2 separate regions of the Homo sapiens genome follow, and region 2 is linked to region 1. Evidence: promoter capture Hi-C in 16 types of primary human blood cells and fetal thymus (Javierre and others, 2016). All regions are on one chromosome and are shown on one strand. Each heading gives the region's core, a stretch centred on a gene start or on the middle of the fragment in contact. The rest is flanking DNA. Distances are from core to core; before and after follow the strand shown.

Evidence for each region. The method cuts DNA at HindIII sites, captures the fragments that hold promoters and counts their contacts. A CHiCAGO score of 5 or more calls a contact.
Region 2: a contact is called between a fragment that was not itself captured here and the fragment with the promoter of CD101-AS1 in region 1, in 1 of 17 cell types (fetal thymus). The highest score is 7.5, in fetal thymus.

Annotation. Positions count from the first base shown.
Region 1 is chr1:117,057,439-117,061,331 of GRCh38, reverse strand. It overlaps CD101-AS1 (CD101 antisense RNA 1), which reads left to right and starts at 1,842. Exons shown (of 4, transcript NR_110786.1): 1 at 1,842-1,959. TTF2 (transcription termination factor 2) reads right to left here and starts at 1,006. Exons shown (of 23, transcript NM_003594.4): 1 at 958-1,006; 2 at 775-877. The coding sequence starts at 985. RefSeq lists an enhancer at 1,306-1,465 and a silencer at 1,886-1,935. The HindIII fragment of the contact is 2,167 bases long and covers 1,326-3,492 here.
Region 2 is chr1:115,642,976-115,646,868 of GRCh38, reverse strand. All of the region lies in intron 1 of VANGL1 (VANGL planar cell polarity protein 1), which reads right to left. Among named protein-coding and RNA genes, the nearest start is that of VANGL1, 3.0 kb to the right of the region's middle. The HindIII fragment of the contact is 4,549 bases long and covers 1-3,893 here.

The sequences.
Region 1 (3,893 bases), core at 593-3,092:
AGAAGATGCTTAACATTTCTGACTCTCTCCTCCCACCTCAGCCTCACGAGTAGCTGGGACTACAGGCGTGTGATACCATGCCTAGACAATTTTTTTTAATTTTTCGTAGAGACGGGATTTCACCATGTTGCCCAGGCTGGTTTCGAACCCCTGGGCTCAAGCGATTCGCTCGCCTTCGCCTCCCAAAGTGCTGGGATTACAGGCGTCACACACCGCGCCAGGCCCTCCGTTGTTTCTTCCAGCGCTAATTTCTTTGAATTATCAATTTCACCATTTAGATGCAGAGAATCCTACTTAAAAATAAGAAGGCTAACAACTAATCACTAGAGTGTTTTAAGCTCAAACATTTAAAAAAAACCGTCGGGCCTAAAACTAGTGCAAAACAGGGACAAATTATTTTCCACTATGTCTGCTGTGTGTCCTTACTCCTTTAAAGGGGGAGGGACTGTCTGGGCAGGAGAAGGGAGTGGTTAAGGCCTGTCAAGTGAATAGAAACCCAGAGCTGGAAAACACCGGATCCTCAATTTTACAGGTAGGGGAACCATCGGCCCAGAGAGGGGGGTAACCAGCCTCGGGTCACACAGCCAGAATTAGCTGGGCGTCTTCCGAACACGCCACGCTGCCCTGGGATCACCAATTGCTTAAAGGGTCCTGACACCGCAAACTAGGGCCCCACCACTCCTCGGCCCTGTGACGCCCGACAGCGGGGAGCGGGAAGCTCCTCTCGGGAGGCCCCGGGCAGCCACAGGGAGTGGGGCCCAGCTCCAGACCTACTCGGTGGCCCGCACGAAGCTGCACGTGTCTGCCCGGCACACGTAGAAGCTCTTTCCTTTATTCGGGCCATCGCGGACGCCGGTCTTAAGAAAGCAGAAAGTCCCTGAAGAGAGAAGAAAGTGAACAACGATTACGCCACGCTAAATCAACAGGCCCCGGGACGCTGAGACCCTAGCCCCTTACCGTGCTCTGGACACCTAACTTCTTCCATTTCGCTGGGTCCCCCAAGTTCCACAAAGCCCCGCCCCCAATTCTGCTTCCGCCTTTTACTCCGCCCTCTTTGTTCAGGAACCAACCATCACTCAGCTCTTGCAGTCTTAATCCCTCCCATAATTCTCCGCCCTTGGCCTTCACCCGTCCTAGCCGCTATCAGCCAATCATATAGGAACTTCGCTCACCTCCAACCAATCACAGCTGCCCTCAGGTATGGCGCGCGCCGAAATCAAATACGGAGCCAGGGGGCGTAAAGGACCCGGCTTTTGCAGGCTGGGGCGTGGCTGAGGCTGGGGAGAAGCTTAGAAGGTGGCGGGGCTTCTGGAGGAAAAGAAGCTTCGATTTGCAGGTCTTGGAAGACGGAAGGGCAACTCTTGTTTACGTTTAAAACCGAGAGGCGGCCCTAGGGGTAGCGCCAGTTAGCAGGCGCTGAAAGGCCCTGGCTTCGTGGGTGTCTCTGAGCCAGGCTGGCGCTCGTGCGCGCTGGGCTCCGCGCTCAGTCGCTGGGGTGGGAGGCCAGGGGAAGCCGCCGCTGCAGGCCGAGCCGCGAGATTTGCAGTGCAGGAGCCGAAGCGGCGGGCATGGTGGGAGGTCCTTGGAAGCTGCTGCGGGGAACTGAAACGGCTCTGATAGGCAGGCACAAAGACTTCTCTAGGACCCCCTACAATGCTTTACGTTTGCCTCGTGCTTTAGATTTCACAAAGTGCTTACACATAACACGACCCTCCTCACTCGACCTGGTGAGATGGGTAGCATTTTGTGGAAGATTCCGAGACTCAAGTTTGAGAGACTCACCCAAGGTCAGAGTTGGCGAGTGGGCGGTCCGTGGACAGGTGCGCAGGTCTCAGCGCCATTTGGCCCGCGCTGCTGCTTCCTGTGTGTACTGGATGTTCTCTAGGCTCGCCCAGCGTGGAAGCCCCGAGTTACCAGCCGCAACGTGGAAACCACAGAAGGGGAAATAGATGACTTTTGGTGAAGGCGAATTTTACTTTATCATTTTGTATTGTCAAACTTTTTTTTACTATTATGCTTTTGTAATTTTAAAAATCGAAGACGAGGTTAAATAGAAGAAAGGGGACAGTTCCCTTCTATTTAACTTCATCCTCGATTTTTAAAATTTGAAGTTGTAATCAAAACTATTAGTAAACAGAGAGGAATAGATATTAGATTTATTGCAATAGAAATAGTTTCATATTGCAGCTATTGAGGACCATATGTCCCAGACATATGGTGTGGCACCTGCACTGTTCTTATGGGGGCCGTAGAACAGAAAATCTGTAATGTCTAGGAAATCTGGGCGATGTGATAAATGTACATGTTATGGGGATCCGGAGGAAGGGAGACAAACCTGAGGTATCATTTATTAATTAAACAGTACTTACTAAATAGCTTTTTTGTGCCCGTTGTGGACTAGGTGCTTGAGAAATGTAAAATTCATTCATTCACACACACAAAGTTTGAAACAACTATTCTAAGCACAAGGAACTTACTCAGTATTTTGAGGAGACTGAACTAGTACATGTTGAACACTTAAATAACAATATAAAATAGTATTTAAATGTCAAAATGAATGGAGTTAGCAGTAACTCTCTAGGACTAGAGAAAAATGGAATTTCCAAAGTGAAGTTCCTTTATACATAACTACCCTTCCGAAACTTAGATGAACTTAGAGATAAGACAGGAACAACAAATAGGTAGAAGCATTTTCATTATTCCAAGATTGTTATTCTTGCAAATGATGTATTTGTACATGTTTAATAGATGCTGTATTGGAGGTAGTATACCATGAATACAGGATTTGCAGAAAGAGGGGCATGGTAATTAATTATTTCTTGAATAATTTTCGAAACAAGGCAAAATCGGGGCCTCTTAAATATCCCGTTAAGGAAGAAGCTCCTCCTCTGCAAGTACCCAAGTCGGTATCTCCAGTCCAACCTCACAAAAGTGTGCACAGCCAAATCACAGACAGGAGGAATATTTCTTCCATAAATTAAAAATATACTAGATCAAAATGTTAAGTCCCTGGACAACTTATTCCACCTCATCATATTTACAAGATTGAAAAAAATAAGTTTGAGATTGGACGAAAGATGGTCATAACTGGAAACATTTTTAAAATTAATTTTTATGCCCGTTGAGTATGGTGGTGGGCACCTGCGGTCCTAGCTACTCAGGAGGCTGAGGTGGGAGGATGGCTTGAGCCCACAAGTTTGAGGCTACAGTGAGCTGTGATTGTGCCACTGCACTCTAGCCTTGGTGACAGAGTGAAACTTTGTCTCTTAAAAAAAAACTTATGCCTATTGAAATAAATAATAATGAATTATACAACATACACTTTTCAAAATATACACATGTATTGGTGTATGTGTATTAATTTTTATTCTTAATTTATATTTTAAATTTATATTGTTAATTAGCCTACAGACCCCCGGAGAGACCTTGGGAGAATGTGCTTTATGGATCTCTATTTTGAGTAAAGTTTAGAGTTTGTTTTTCCTTAAAGCTTGATTTATTCAAAATAATGTCTAGGCTGGGTCCTAGATTTAGATGGCTTAAAATGCACAGGTTAATTATCCAATAAATTTGTTCAGTATGGAGCTGGTCAAATGCAAAGTATATGTTGGAATTGTTCTAAAACTGGATTGTGGTAATGGGTGCACAATTGATTAAATTTACTAGACTCTTTGAATTGTACACTTTAAATAGGTGAATTCTATGACATCTAAATTATACCTTAATAAGGCTGTTTTAAAAACTAAGCAATGCCAAAATACCTATCTGCTGCATTGAAAGTAATAACTAAAATTGGTCATCTAGATATGTTGACATCCTTAAGGAAACATCCTAATGGGTGAAGAAATAAAGTGGTAGTAGAAACCCTTCGGTTACAGAAGCAGACTGGTTCT
Region 2 (3,893 bases), core at 462-2,961, 1.4 Mb after region 1:
TTCCTGATCCTTCAATCTCAGTCAGGCTCTTCTCTAGTACCCTGTACTCTTCCTTTCTATCCAACTTCCAGTGATACATTTGTTTGTGTGATCACTTATTGTCTAGTTTCTTCACAGGCTGTAAGCTCCATGAGGGCAGAGGCACTTTCATGACTGCCTGTCTTTCCAGCTCCTAGGACATTATGGGTACCCTATAAATGTCTGCTGAATGAAGGGTTTTGTGGCAGATCTTAGGACATGAGGCCATAGATTCATTGTGGAAGAAACTTTAGAAATTATCTATTTTAAATCCTTAGTTTTAGAGGTGGCAAAAAAAAAGATGCAGATATTAGATAGAGGCGTGATACCAGAACTATCAAAAAAAAAAAAAAAAAAGCTATACTACTGGCTCGCATGGCAGTCCCACTCAGGGGCAGAGTTCGTATGCCAGACACACTGAGTAAAAATCAGCAGCAGCCTCTTTCAGCCACTGCCCAAGAGCATCTTGCCTCACCGGTCACCCACCCCTTAAGAGTGTATTGCTTGGCACTGCTTGGGTAGGGGCTGGAGGCAAATATTAGGACACGGCCAGGCTCATTGAACCACATTGCATGCAGGCAAGGTCAACAATGGGAGATAGGTGCACAGAGTGCTTCTAAGTGGCAGTGTCCTAAATTCTGGACTTCCTAGGCAAAAATGTCAGAAAGAACCTCCTTCACCACCCTTTATCAAAAGCAAAATGAAGATAATCAGCCTCAAACAGAATTCTCTCCTAAAGTCATGTTCACTCATATAAAAATCCTACTACTTAATATGAAAACACAGTGTTTAGCAAATCGTATGAAGGAAATAATATGTTATGATAATGACAGTGGTAAACATAAGCTAACCTTCGCAAAAAGGAAATTATAAAAACATCAACAGCTCTGCCTAGAGCTATTAAGTAATTAAGGGAGCTCTGGTTTGGAAAGTTACTTTGTAAGGGTTACAGAGACACGCACTGAATTTAAAGAGAGATTTTGCTTCCTATGCAGTAAGTAGATCTATTTCCAAGGAAAAGTGGTGTCTGGTACAACCATGCTTATATATGCTGTGTATATTATTCTGAATATTTGATTTTTACATAGAATTCTGCAGAGATTATGCTATTAATTATTATTTATATTATGTCTTGAAGCTAACATTCTTCTTAGGGGTACCCATTCTTAATTAAATGGCACTCAAGGGGAAAGTGACAATTGAAATAATTTTGTTTAGAGTCAACTATTCTTCTAGAGAGTAGCAATGAGCCCAAATTGTGGGTGAAGAGCATTCAAATCCTGGCTCTAGTACTTAGCTGTGTGACCTCAGAACAAGTTACTTAACTGCTCTCTGCCTCAGTTTCCCTAACTGTAACAACAGATTTTATTTTACTTATATTATAGATCTGTGGTAGGTATTAAATGAGATAATTCATAAAAATTATTAGAACAGTGCCTAGCACGTGGTAGGCACTCACAGCTGTCAACTACTACTAGTATTCACTAGAGTAAAATTCCTTCAGTTAGGAAGAACTGAAGGGGTTGTATGGCATATAACTTCTGTATCATTTTCACTGAACTTATACACATTTTTCTGGTCTCTGCTACCACCTTTAACTGCTACTATTAGCTATAGCTGAGTAACAAGTGATTTCTATTCTGTTTCTTACAGGCCTCTATTTACCATCCCCAGGTTGGAAGCAAATGTCAGAGAGACCAGAGGAAACCGTGTGTGTTTTAGTGGGTTTATTTGGAGGGGCATGGGCTGGAAAGGAGCGGGCAGAGATGCAGGGCAAATCTATAAAACATTTTGAACTTGTGGCCTATAAACCACCAAACATCATGCAGGTCACTGATGTGAGGATCTGCTGGGCTTATGGCATTTGTGACAAACCCAATGATTCTTTTATTACAACAGCTTATAAATGAATGATTCTGGGTCATTATTTACAAGGAAAGAAAATGTCAACTTTGTTTTACTTGTTTCGCCAATGATTTCAACTCACCTTGCCAGAATAACTTCTCTTGGCTCCAGTCATTAATTACCCCTGAAACACCTCCAGCAGCTGGGTACAGATTTCTGAAGAGGTGTGAATCGTTAACATGTCTGGAGTTATGTGATGTATATTTGCTTGCAAGTGACTCCCTTGTTCCCTGCCAGATATTTAAACTTCAGAAAAATAGATCTCATGAGTACTATCTCCTCTGTAAATCTGATGGTACAGAGTCTGATCACTGTTGTCCTGTAACTGGGATTCAGAAGGACACTGCTAGAGACAACAGCACACACATGTATCCTTGCATCAAACTTCAATACTGCTAACATCAAACCAATACTGCTAACACCAAACCAATATTGCTAACAGAAACATGGTCCAATCACAAGCCCACCTAATCTTTTCCATCTTAAGGAAAATAGAATAGCATGATGCCCAAATCACATGCCCTATACAGCGAGACCCTAACCAGCTAGCTGATTTTACAGAGATGATGGTAATAGTCTAACAGTTTCTAGTTGTCAAGTGTTTACTATGTGTTAGATGCTGTTTTAAGTCACTTACATGTAATATCTCACTTAATCCGCATAACAAGTGTTTAAGAAAAATAAGACATTAATATCATGTTAGTTAGGGAAACCAGACTGCCACAGGAGCCAGGGCTTAAACGTTGAGAGTCTAACTCCAGAACCTGTGTTCTTAGCTACAGAAAATTGACAGCACTGTAGCAATTACTAGAATTGTTTGTTTATATAGAGGAGTATAAGCAACAATCACAAATTGTCCCAAACCACATATAACCCCACTAAGAATTTTGCAATTTCAACTTCTACTCACAGGTTCAGTGTTCCAAGCATCGTGGGGCACTCAGGAGAAAAGAAATGGATCTAAAATAGTTCTAACTCCCAATGAGCTCACAGCCCCAATGTGGAGACCTCCAATTAAAACACAATGTGACAAGGGCCCATCCCACCAAAATAGCTGATAAGGCCTAGGGTAGCAAGCACAGTGTGTGTATATAAGTGTGTTAAGGGGATGATGAAGGGGAGGATGCCTTCTTCATTCAACACATTTATCCTTCAAACAAAGGGTGACATGGAATTGTTGCTTGGTAAAGAAACTTTAAATTTCCTTTATGGTTTTGTCCTGTTGCTTAATACATAAGACAATAAAAATGTACTGCTTGGCAAGCAGTCCTTACAAATATATCACTCTCAAAATTCTTCTCCCATTTTACTTACAAATTAAGTTGCAAGCAAGCCTCACTGCCAACATTGTTAATAGTGAAATTCCACACTGAGTGTTTTCACTAATTATACTGAGAGACATCAACGTTTGGGAATGTTTAATGCTCATGGATAGGTGAAGCGTGTTATTTCTTTGAACTGGAAAAAGAAACAGTTTCCTCCCACAAATCAAAGCCCCAACTATATCACATTGATTTAATTCAACCCTAAAAACTCTATAATTAGTGGTTACAGAAAATGGCTAATTACCTCTCCCTGTATTCAGACAATTTCTGCCATCTCACTTGCAGAGCCTGGGAGCTGTGTACTCAACCCACCCACTGACGGGAGAATGCTAATTAGCATTGTTGACTGGTGATACAAGTTATAATATTTTTCAGCAGCCCCGTAAAATTTATAAACATGTCAGTGAAAATGCCAGATTCTTTTACAGTTTGTTAGCTTTTGGACTAAGTGTCTAAGAATACATTCATTTCTAACCAAAGCCAGGTCAAGAGTTTTAACAAAATGCATGGGCCATCTACACAATCATCATCATAAGGCGCTCTAACACTTCCTAAGGAGAATCTAAGAGAGCTCACAACACCTTCGCAGCGTGGGCATTAGACCTGGTTTGGAGAAGTGAAAACTGAGCAACAGATTCCTCAGCT